Linked DNA regions of Homo sapiens: region 2 is linked to region 1. The links are contacts of gene promoters, found by promoter capture Hi-C in blood cells and fetal thymus (Javierre and others, 2016). All regions are on one chromosome and are shown on one strand. Each heading gives the region's core, a stretch centred on a gene start or on the middle of the fragment in contact. The rest is flanking DNA. Distances are from core to core; before and after follow the strand shown.

Region 1 (6,217 bases), core at 818-3,317:
ATGAGGAACTGTTTTTAGCAACTGATGATGAAACACTTGCCTCTGAACTAGTTTTGGAAGTTAACCCACTTGAAGCTGTCTCTGAACTAGGTTTGGAAGACAATAGTGGCAATTCTACCTCTGAGCTTCCTGAGGAGCCCAACAAGGGCACCTCGATCTCTGAGCTGCTTTGAGAAGCTGAGGCTGAAGAGCCTTCCAAAGCACTCTTTTTAGGTGATCCACTTTGTTGTCTAGAATCAGTGGATTGGGTCATGTGACTATTCACACTGGATTTCAGCAAGGAAACAAATGATGCAGAACCGTGTTTATCTGGAGCTTCTGCTTCAGAAGCTTTCCCAGATCCTGCCGTTGTTACCTGAGAGGAAACGCTGCTGCTGCTTTGGCTGGAAACAGATCGATCTCCATCACTTGTAGAGCTATTCTGACTGGAGATGCCAGAGCTCCGAGCTGAGTTCCCACTCTCTGATTTGATGGCCGACCCTATACACGTTGAACTGTTTTCCTGCTGAGCTGATGCACGTTCTGTCTTGGCAGAGGTTTTTGCGTGATCTTGCTCAACTGCAGAACTGTTTTTTCCTTCTATAACTCGTTTTTTGGATGGCTCTTCTACCCCTTCTAAAAAGAAGAAAAACATAGATATGTGACTAAGAATACCTCGTACAAAACGGGTGATGAGACAAATACACATTAAAATAAAGGCACAAAGTGAAAACATTTCAAGACTAATCGTTTCTTTAAAAAGTGTGGAGTCATTAATTTCTTAAAACAGTGTTGAATAACATCATGAATGTCTAATATTAAAAAAATAACAGCATCAGACAACAGTGGACACTTCAAAATCTAAAGCAGTCAAAGCAAACTATCAAATTCAAAGCCTAAAGACACAGATATATACTTTAGGTTTAACATTCCAACTTTATTACTTATTAATAACATAAAAATTCTGGCTTGTTAAAAAAATTAGTAACAATAATTCCTAATTATATCAAACTTATGCTCTAAACTCCTATGTATGTTCACATCTATGATCTGCTAACCATTGCTACTCGATATCCCTCTTTTCTTCACCTTGGCAACCAGTTCATCTCTTGTTGTATAGGTTGGAGCATCTGTCACTTTGATGCCTTCAGCCATACTAAGTATTTTATCCATAACTTTTTGAGGGTATCTGAAAAAGAAGGAAAAGTCATTTTTAAAAAGTGTTTTTTCTAAGGTCCTACTTGTGCAAAAAACAGGCCACAGGGACTGCATTTCCTGGCTGCAATCAAGAAAGTGAACCAACCGCCAAGAACTGTTTCCTGGAACCCCATAAACAAGTGCCCCAGGGTCTGGGAGGCAGGGCACCTCCTCACTAATCTTAAATCTCGCACCCGTCCCCAAGAGCGTTGTTCCCTAACACAAGCAACCCTACCAGCAGCTGCGCCCACACCACCGGGCACACAGACGTCCGGGAATCATGTCGGCTCCTCGCAGGGACGCCCTTCTCCCCCTTAGAGGGCAGCCGGGCCGGCGGATTCCCGCGCTTCACAACTTCCCCTCCCCGCCGAGGCCGGTCCCGCGGAGGGCGCCGGGCCCCGGTCTGCAGGTGGCACACAAAACGAGGCGTGCTGGTTAGGGACGCTGCCTCACTCACCGGCACCCGAGGAAGACGTGGTTCGCCCAGGCCATGGAAAAGGAGATGAGCTGCTGCAGCTGCCGGTTTCGGGTCCCGCTCTCGGCGTCGGCAGCTTCATCCGTGCTAGCGGAGGCAGCGCCGCCAGCGGGGGCCAGGTCCCCGGCGTTGCGAAGCAAAAAATCCCGGCGGTGGCGCCAGTGTTTGTCAGTCTCGCCGTCGCAGCGCAGCGCCTCCACCCAGGCTGCCACCCGCGGGTTCTGGCTCAGGTACTCCGACACCTCCTGCGCCATGTTGGGCCTGCAGGCCGCGAACACAGCTGCACCGGGAGACAGGCAGGACTAGCGGGGCGAGCGGCCCTGTCACTGCGGCCTGCACCCGCGGCCCTCCAGATAACGCCCCTCCGCAGGCCTAAAGACCAAACAACAGCGCCCAGAGCCGCCGAACCGCCCACTTCCGCCCACCGCCGGCTTCTTCCCTTTTATAACCTCGCCGCCGCCGCGCGCCCTCGCGTTCTTCCGGCGCGAGCCGGCGCTCCCAAGACGCTTTGCGGCGCCGGGGCCGCTGCGACGCTGCGTCCCCGTGAGGCCACGGAGGGCACCCCGGGGGTGAGGTGGGCGGGCGTCGGGCGTCTCCCGCCCCACGAGGGCGGACTGCAAGTCGAGCTGGCCTGGGACGACCGAGTCTCGGCGGAACCCCGGGCGTTCTGTCCTCGCTTTGTGACGCCGCGCGCTCCTGCCGTCCTCCTCCCCCGCCGGGTCAGCTGCGGCGCCGGGAGCAGAGGCGAGAGGGGCAGGGCCCGGGCAAGGGAGGCAGCCGGGCGCGGCGGCCAAAGTCCGCTAGGGGGGCGTCCCGGGGGACCTTGAGCCGCCCGCAGCCGCGGGGCCTGTGGTCTCCGCCCTGAGACGCCTGTGTGTGAGCGGGGCCAAAACAAACAAAAGCCGGCCTCCATGTTAGAGTGTTGGGAGCTGCGTCTCGCGCTGCTTTCAGTGTGCCCGAGCGAAGCGTTCCGAGGCCGTCGGGGTCTCCGCGCCTTCAGGAGGGCGGGAGTGCCAGTCCCCTTACATAGCAGCAGTAGACAGTAAGGTCACACGAGGACCTGGCTCCGTGTTGCCGTGAGGCTTGCAGCCTTCGAAGCTGGCCCTGGCCCCGCAGCGGTAGGGCTTGTTCCCGCAGTTTATTAGGTCTCTAGTTAATCCAGGCATTGCCTTCCTGTTCTGGTCAGTAGGAAAACAACACCCCGACAACGCTCTGTCTCTAGAATTTCCTAAAATCAACAGCTTTACCACCAACCGGCAGATGTCCGGAGGTGGAGTGGAAATGTACCTATTTATCTATAGGGCCCCAAACCTCTCTCCCTGTTAGAGCTGTTTTTTCCTTCTATATATTTTTTTCCACTTTACATTTCCCACAGTTACGTACTCTAACTGCTGGCTGGCTTATTGTTACGTTTCCCATTCCAGGTATACATGCACTGTAAGATAAATACGTTAAATGATATAAATTATGAAATTTTTCTTTCAATAAATGTAGACTTTGATGTAAAAATGCATGAATCAGAATAAGCAAGCAAAAAAAGGTCACTTTAGGTAAGATCAGATAAGGTTAACTGTGTAATTTATGTGCATGCTGGAACAAAATACAGCTATTGTATGAAAACAATATTGCCCATTTTCCTGCCATACCAAAAGAAACTACATAAAAACGGAGGCACAAAGAAATTTTGAAGCTTTGTGATTTTGCTTCTAGTTTGCTGTTCTTTCCTCCTTTTCACAGATAATTGCTGAAAATCTAGAGGGGGTGGACGGATTGCAGAAATCTGGCTATTTAAAAGGTGGAGAAATTACGATTTCTCCTTTCATGAATTCTTTGGCAAGGGGACCATGGCAAGTAAAAGAAGCTATGATCGCATACCTAGATTATATATGTGCATTTTAAATCAAGAATGTTCTCACGGCCAGGTGCAGTGGCTCACGCCTGTAATCCCAGCACCTTGGGAGGCCGAGGCGGACGAATCATGAGGTCAGGAGTTCGAGACCAGCCTGGCCAATGTAGTGAAACCCCATCTCTACTAAAAATACAAAAGTTAGCCAAGTGTGGTGGCACGTGCCTGTAGTCCCAGCTACTCTGTAGGCCGAGGCGGGAGAATCGCTTGAACTCAGGAGGCAGAGGTTGCAGTGAGCCGAGACCAAGCCATTGCACTCCAGCCTGGGTGACAGAGTGAGACTTCATCTCAAAAAATAATAATAATAATGTTCTCACTTTTTTTCTTGTTGCCCTGTAGTCTTCTTCCCACTCATGGGCTTCATTGCCTTGAAAGGAGAACAAGTAGAGCCTGAATTTCAAACAATTTTTTTAATTATAATAAAAGCGATAGAGTCTGAAAGATGGAGTACTTGTGCAAAAACCAGGTGCTTGGAATAAAAGATACATGCATTTTTCTTTTTTGATTCTTAAAAAGTTGACTTTGCATATAAAGATTCAAAGACTATGAACCACAAGTAGCTGGGACTGCAGGCGGGTACCACGACGACAGGCTAATTTTTTATTTTTTTGTAGAAACAAGGTTTCACTGTTGTCCAGGCTGGTTTTGAACTCCTAATATCAAGCAATTCTTCTGCCTCGGCCTCTCAAAGTGCTGGGATTATAGGCATGAGTCGCTGTGCCCGGCCTCATTTTTTTTTAAAGACCCTCCCACCTACAGAGACAAATTCCTCTCTAAGCTGGGGGAGACGTTCTGAGAGAAAAGGTGAGAGGAGAATTTAGGTGATAACTAGGAAAGTCTATGGGAGTAGGGAATAAGATGCAGGGTGGGAAGTGTTGGCTGTTAGAAATTGCTAGGTAGATTTTGGGTCTAAGAGCAGAAGGACTTGGCTCTGCCCGAGTTTCTGAGAGAAGACAGCCCAATCGTGCCCTGAGCCTGTATGCGTTGGCCTTTAGAAATGAACATAGAAAGGGCCTTTTATAGCTTTGATAACCAACTATACAACTCCCTCCTCTGCTCCTAACACACGTGTGTATATATATATACATATGTGTGTGTGTATATATACATAACACACACACACGCATTTACGCACATATATCTCACAGGGCCTAGAGGAGATCCAAAAGGTTCCCAAGAAAGAGTTGAATGGTGAAGTGCCTACCAAGCACCAGGGTCCAAGGTGAATGAGGCTAGGGGTGGTCAGCTTGTCAGCAAAGGGAGATGCAGCTAGTTTTCAGCAAGTCATCAGACCAGTGCCCGTCAGGCCGCATCAATAGGAGAGGACCCTCAACCTCTCCTGAAATGATCAGTGTGCATTGCTTGTGCTGGTAGATCAAGCAGTTATACTCCCAGCAGAGCCCACAGGGAAGAAAGCACAAGACAATGCTAGGATGATAACCAAGCCTCACCCCACCACTGCCCTCACTAGAAATCTACTCAGAGGAGAAAAGGGAGAGAATTCTAATGAATTGAGAAAGATCCACTATCATCCCAAATTGAGTTTCAAACAAGTGACTGAGTTCACAGGATTAAATTTTCTGCTGTAAGTGGAAGCCCATTCACTGAAACTGGTTCTGTAGCATATCTCTCTGAAGACATCCAATAAAAATTCCAGCGGCAAGCTGGCTTTTCTGCAGATGGCTTTCCCATGGAGCAACATGAAGGGATTGCCCCTGTTCCTGGATGTGACTGTGGAAGCAAGAAAGCCTTTGGCAGGAAGGTCTGCATGTGGAGAGGCTTGTGAGGAGCAAATACTCCAGTTATGGCCAAGGTTATGACTTGATGTGAGAAATACTTCATGGTGAGGGGAAATATTTTATGCTAATGATGTGTGAGGACACAAATCTGCCAAATTACAGTGATAAGGTGGGATGTTCTGAAAAAGTAAGAGAATGTTTTAAGAGTGATCCCCTCTGTTAGAAGCTTTGAGAAATCAAGTAGGATGAAGATAGGTAGTAACAGTCTGATTACGGACTGGAGCCACCTGTGAGCTTGGCAAAAGCCGTTTTTACTGCAGTGATGAAGACTCCATATCAGAGTGAGTTCAGGAGTCGGAAATGGAGATATTTGGCTGTAAAGGGGAGAAGATAGAGGAAGCTGGACAGGGTCATGGGGTCAAGGTGGCTTCAATTTCAGATGGGAGTAGCCTGAGCATGTTGCCCACTGCTTGAAGGCAACTCACAGAAAAGGAGAGTTTGAGGATCTGAAGAAAAAGAGGGTAATTAGCAATTTCTGCAGACATAGGTGTGGCTGGGATCCACACACAGGTGGAGAGATTAACCTTAGGTGGGCAGACACTTCCTCTGTTTTAAAAGAAGACGTTTGTAAGTTTGGAGCTGAGACGTTGACATGGAGGCCATCTGATGGTGCAGAGAATGCTCGCAATGGATATTTTAGAGGGCAGAAGAGCAGGCTGCCTAGATGAACATAGTCTTTTTGGCCAATTTAAAATTACAGGCTGGGCGTGGTGGCTCACACCTGTAATCCTAACACTTTGGGAGGCCAAGGTGGGCAGATTACTTGAGCCCAGGGGTTCAAGGCCAGCCTAGTCTACATGGCAAGACCCTGTCTCTACAAAAAATACAAAACATAGTTGGGTGTGTTGGTACATACCTCTA
Region 2 (6,070 bases), core at 297-2,796, 2.0 Mb before region 1:
TATCTCCTGAATCATCAATATCAATCAGCAATGCAGACCATAAATTCTCAAAATTATAATTTATTAAAATTGTCTACAATGCCACAAGAAAGTCAAATCTTCTAGAGCCCATTTTTTTCTTTCTTTCTTTCTTTTTTTTTTTTTTTTTTTTGAGACAGAGTGTCGCTCTGTGGCCCAGGCTGGAGTGCAGTTGCACTATGTCGACTCACTGCAGCCTCTGCCTCCTGGGTTCAAGTGATTCTCCTGCCTCAGCCTCCCGAGTAGCTGGGATTACGAATGTACTCCACCATACCTGGCTAATTTTGGTATTTTTAGTAGAGACAAGGTTTCACCATGTTGGTCAGGCTGGTCTCGGACTCCTGACCTCAGGTGATCCACCCGCCTCGGCCTCCCAAAGTGCTGGGATTACAGGTGTGAGCCATCATGCCGGACCTAGAGCCCATTTCTTTTCTTTTTTTTTTTTTTGTTTGTTTTTTTTTGTTTTTTTGAGACGGAGTCTGGCTCTGTTGCCCAGGCTGGAGCACAGTGGCGCCATCTCGGCTCACTGCAACCTCCGCCTCCTGGGTTCAAGCGATTCTCCTGCCTCAGCCTCCTGAGTAGCTGAGATTACAGGCGCGTGCACTAGAGCCCATTTCTATAAGAAACAAATTAGAGGAAGTAAGCACTGAAACTATCATAAGAAGTTTCATTTCAATGAAAGCAAGCCATCATGTATTACTTATTATATATTATATGTTATTATATAGCAAATTATGATATCCTGGTGATTGTGATTTTGAATTTTAATTTTCTATGTGTGATGGTTTACTACAAAATAAATAATATATACTCGTTTAAAACTTTAAAGAGCACCATTTTCTGATGGGCAGGAGGATTAGCTGGGGGCACGCACCCAGTCCTTGGTTAAAGGAGGTCAGGTTTCCCGTGAACGCAACATCAATCCTGCACGTGATACACCAGGTGCGTAAAAATTAACATGCTTAGACAAAGGAAGCCCACCGTCGCTTCCCACAGCTTTCATGAGCATATTTTAATACATGTTTAGGTTAATTCATTATTGAAAAATAGGAGTCTTCTTTTCATTGCAGCAAACAAAAGTCCTTTCACAATATTGGTCATGGGCCGTTCAAATCCCCAAATGCTGAAACTCCTCTGAGGGATGCGCTGAAATGAGAGGACTAAGAATTAAAAAAAAAAAACAACAGCGATGAAGTGGAGATGTGGAAAGGCAAAGGGAAAGCTCTCAGGCGTGTGTCCGTCCCCGGGCGGTCCCTTTCTCCGCACCGCTTTGGTCCGGCGGGTACCGCAGCGAGTCCGAGTGTGAGCAAGCCCGTCCCGGACAGCCGCGCGCGTGTGCGGGGAGGCGCCCAGGTGGGCTGTCCCAGGCCAGGTTCCCAGGGAAGCTCTCGGGGAAGCGTCCGGAGTGAGGAGGGACCCACCGGGACCCCACCAGGGACCCCAGCCGAGCGCGCGCCGCCGAGGGTGGGGGTGGGGCCGGCGCCCCGGCCACCCGGTTACCTGGCGACAGGATGCCCTGCGCGGGGCGGCGGAGCGGGTGCGTGCGGCGGCGGTTGCGAGAGAGATGAGCCGCGGCGATGAGCCCGGGTAAGAGTTGGACGGGGCGGGGCTCCTAGGGGAGCCGCGGGAACGGAGGGCAGCAGAAGGGCATTCAGCAGGCGGCTCCCCGCTCGAAAACCCGGGACATCCCGGGTCCGCCCTTCTGCACTCGCCGCACATCTCCCGCTCGGCCCTAGGGCTGAGCACCCGCTGCGGCCCCCTGCGTCCGCTGTGGCTTACAGGCTGGCTACGTGGTCTGCCGCCGCCGCCCGCCCAGCGCGCCCTCGGGTGGCCGCTTGCGGAAAGCGCCGCGCCCCGCCCCAGGCCCGGCCTGATGCCGTCCCTCCGCCCCATCCCTCCGCCCCGCCCCAGCCTTCAGCCTTGACCCCGCCCCATTCCTCTGCCCCCACAGGTCCCGCCCAGTCTCTCCGCCCCATCCCATCCCTGCGCCCCGCCCCAGCCTTCAAACCCGCCCCCTCCTAATTCCCTCCGCCCCGCCCTCCCCGCCCTCCCCGCCCCCCCGCCCCAGCCTTCAGCCCCGCCCCCTCCTAATTCCCTCCGCCCCGCCCCAGCCGTTAGCCCTGCCCCGCCCCATCCCTCTGCCCCGCCCCCACCTTCAGCCCCGCCACGCCACGACCCGCGACAGAACAGCCCCGGACGGTTCTGTTACAGAAAAGCAGCACCGGGAAGAGGATGAAGTTGACTCCGTTCTCCTTTCAGCGTCCAAGATCCTAAATTCTTCGGAGGGGGTGAAGGAAAGTGGCTGCAGTGACACAGGTAAAATCGCCAGACCGTAAAAGGCTCCTTTAACTATACACAGGCGGCAGCATCTGGCCTGTGCCACCTGCTCACCTGGCGTGCTTCCCACGGCCGTGATGACACGGACAGCAGCCACCACGGCACTCGCGCTTTGTGCCAGTGCTGTTCTAAGCACGTAATGGATCAACTGTTTAATTCTCACAACACTTTTACGAGGTGGGTGCTACCACGATCCCCATTTTGCAGATAAGGAAACGGGCACAGAGAGGTTAACTCCCTAAGGTCACACAGGCAGCGAGGAATGGAGCGGGCATTCAGCAGGGCGGCTCCGGACTGCCTGTCTTCACCACCACGCTACGCTCCGTTGCTTCTCTGAATGCTAAGTAAGAATTGTTGAGTTTTTTGGACACACACTAAAACGATATGCAGTCAGCCCTCGGTATCTGGGAGTTCCGCATCCTTGGATTCAACCAACCACAGATGGAAAATATTCAGGGGGGAAAATTTTTAAAAATAACAGTACCACAATTTTTAAATGCAAATTTTGAACAGTATAACAGCCATTTACATAGCATTTACATTGTATAAGGTATTACAAGTAATCGAGAGATGATTTAAAGTATACAGCAGGATACACATAGAAGCTATGCAAATACTACCCCATTTTGTATTAGGGACTTGGGCATCTGCAGATTTTGCTATCCGCAGAGGCTCTGGAACCAATCCCCTGTGGATATCCAGGGAGGGGTGTATACCTTTTCTAAAGAAAACTACTTTTTATAGTAAATATTTACGGACTACAGGATATTATATGGGGAGGATGTTTGAAATAGCCACATAGCTAAAGCTTTCAAGCACCACATAAATTATGAATAAGATGGGGGTACCCAGCTAGGGGAATCTGAGGACATTGAAGGTGGAGTCCCAGGCGACTGACTACACGCCTCTCAGAGGAGCCTGCTGTGAGGGGACATGCCGGGGAAGGAGCAGAGCACGGGGCAGGAGAAGGGTCTAGACTGATGTGCCATGCCCGGACCCCCAGTTGCCCCTCTGTAGGATATGGGCAATCCTGATGCCAAAGTGCTGAACCACAAGAGGACTGAGGTTGGGACAGGATTTCTGCACCTCCACCATGCAAGATCTTCACAAAAAGCCTTGTCAGGGCCCGGAAAGAAGAGACTAGAGCAGCCACACCTCAGTAGACAGAAGACACCCGGGTGCCCAGGCACTACCAGGATGAGCAACACCCCAGTGGAGGCCAGCAGGACAGGCACTGGCCAGTCCCCTCTCCGCCCTCCTGCCTCCACCCTTGAGATATGCAGGTTTCCCTGGGCAACCAGGAGGGGCAAAGGGGCCCCCTGAACGAAGGAGAAAGAGTCCTCACAGAGAGTTGAGACATTGAGGTAGCTCCGTATTTACCTCAAAGAGAGCATGTAAGGTCAGAAGAAATAGAAGTACCTTAATTTGGCAAGATCACATGTTTTTTGACATGAATGAGGCTTAGGGTTCTGGAGAAAGATGCCAACATTTATAGAAAATAGTTACATGCAAAATAGCACATGTACATGTTTAAGAGTTACAGTCTTTCTTGCCAGAACACAGTGTTTACAGGTCTGGGGTTGACACAGGACAGGTTCTTAATAAACACCAGTTATCTTGAGTCAGGGGCCACCCAGGAATTTCCTGCCTGCAACTATAGGCAAAACTAGGAGGTATGGCTGGCGCCCTTCTCTCTACTCTCCTACTGATGCTTTCATTGTCACCAAGTGATCCATTCCCCGTGTACTGAGAAAATAATGACCTGATTTGCATAACTACTGCCAGGTTACAAAGAGTTATAGAATGTTCCCAAGGTGTCTCTGATTTCAGAACTAGTGGTTAACCTAATTAACCCTTATTGGAATGGGTTTGTGAGAGACTTTTGAATTTGAGGGTGTCCAGGGTGTTGTTCCCAGCACCCTGTTGTACCCGAGCTTTCATTCATTCATTCGTTTGTGGAGCATATTCTTTTGAGCACCTGCTAAGTTTCAAGTGCTGTTCTAGGTGCTGGGGATCCAACAGTGAACAAGACTTGCAAGATTCCCTGCCCACATGGAGCTTACCTTCTAGTGAGGGAACAGACAGACAAAGGCTATTGTGTGTAAGCGGGGAATAAATTCTATGGAGAACATAAGGCTGAGAAGGGGGGGAGGAATATTTGGAGTGGCAGAGGTGGGTGGGAAGTGTGTCATTTTAAACAGGGTGGTAGGAGAAGGGCTCACTCAGCAGGTCACGTCTGAGCCAAGACCAGAAGGAAGTAAAGAAGCAATCTGTGCAGATTTCTAGGGAAAGAGCACCGCAGGCAGAGAGAATGGCAACTGCAAAGACCCTGTGGTGGGAGCGTGGCTGGTGTGATTGAGGAACGGTTGCTCTTGTAAATGGAGCAGAACAAGTAGGGAAGGGTAGGCGGGAGGAACCAGGACAGGGCTTTGTAGTTCCATGGATGAATTTGGGATTTATTCTGAGAAAATTGAGAAGCACTGGAGAATTTTGAGAAGGCTTCTCTCCCCTCCGTCTTGACTAGAAATTTTGAATTTACCAAATTATCATCATATTGCCTCTGCAGTAATGAGTTAGTGTCTCTTGAGCATTCACTATGTGCCGTACACCTCGTACACCTCAGTAAGGGCTTTATCTACAAACTGGACACTCGCCTAGAGTTATCCCCTCACTGCGAGTGTGTGGCAAAGCTAGAATTCAAATCTGGGCGGCAGGCAACCTGTTGCATAGCTCCTTGCATAATGACTGTGACAAAGCCTCATGCAGAGGGTGCCACACCTCACAAAGCTTTGTAAGACAGGGACATCTAGGAATGAACTTGAATTGTCACAGCAGAACTCAGTATTAGAACCTGCGGCCAGGCATGGTGGCTCACGCCTGTAATCCCAGCATTTTGGGAGACCGAGGCAGGAGGATCACCTGAGGTCAGGAGTTTGAGACCAGCCTGGCCAACATGGTGAAACCCCGTCTCTACTAAAAATACAAAAATTAGCCGGGTGTGCTGGCACATGCCTGTAGTCCCAGCTACTCAGGAAGCTGAGGCAGGAGAATCACTTGAACCCGGGAGGCAGAGGTTGCAATGAGAAGAAACTAAGAATTACAAAGCTTGCAGAGAGCCTGACATCTTATATAGAATCGTTACCCTGTTGCATTTTCAGAATGTATTGGTTCCTCTTGGTCTGTTTGCTACAGGTATGCAGTTGGTACTTTTTGTATACATTGAATACAATATTTTTTGCAGGCTCAGAATAAAAATTACCTCAAAAGTCATCCCATTGATAACTACCTTGTTTTTCACTTTTGACAGAAATATGAAGCAGCTGGAAAATTTAAGTTGAATATGAGATGAGTAATATTCTTACATTCCCAATAAACTCTCATCTTGGTGGGTGGGACCATGCCTTCCGCTTTGTTTATGTGCCTCCCGATATTGTATGTTTAGCAGGGACTTGGTAAATGGTGAAGTGTGATTGTGTTTTATCTCCTGGGTTCTTTGATAATTTCCCTTCCAATTCTAGAATCACGTAATTCTGTGTGACTAAGTATTGCCTAGTTTTTAAATTACCTTTCCTTTGGGAATAAGTAGCAGCCGATGTCTCTGAAACTCATAAGAAAAACAGAAAGTTATGTTAATAGCTTTTAAAAATAGATGAATCCGACTCCCTGCCTACTCTCTGCCTGTGCAGAATCATCTGAACTTTGCTGGAGAAAAACA

What was found. The method cuts DNA at HindIII sites, captures the fragments that hold promoters and counts their contacts. A CHiCAGO score of 5 or more calls a contact.
Region 2: the fragment with the promoter of CCDC110 here is called in contact with the fragment with the promoter of CDKN2AIP in region 1 in 7 of 17 cell types (total B cells, non-activated CD4 T cells, activated CD4 T cells and 4 more); the score reaches 8.8 in total B cells.

The regions. Positions count from the first base shown.
Region 1 is chr4:183,440,486-183,446,702 of GRCh38, reverse strand. CDKN2AIP (CDKN2A interacting protein) reads right to left here and starts at 2,067. Exons shown (of 3, transcript NM_017632.4): 1 at 1,634-2,067; 2 at 1,038-1,168; 3 at 1-615. The coding sequence starts at 1,905. RefSeq lists an enhancer at 1,613-1,762 and a silencer at 2,043-2,592. The HindIII fragment of the contact is 3,011 bases long and covers 333-3,343 here.
Region 2 is chr4:185,467,209-185,473,278 of GRCh38, reverse strand. It overlaps CCDC110 (coiled-coil domain containing 110), which reads left to right and starts at 1,546. Exons shown (of 7, transcript NM_152775.4): 1 at 1,546-1,605; 2 at 2,230-2,334. The coding sequence starts at 1,596. It overlaps LOC105377590 (a long non-coding RNA gene), which reads right to left and starts at 1,848. Exons shown (of 2, transcript NR_133944.1): 1 at 1,519-1,848; 2 at 1,016-1,164. RefSeq lists a silencer at 1,332-1,961. The HindIII fragment of the contact is 5,122 bases long and covers 1-3,165 here.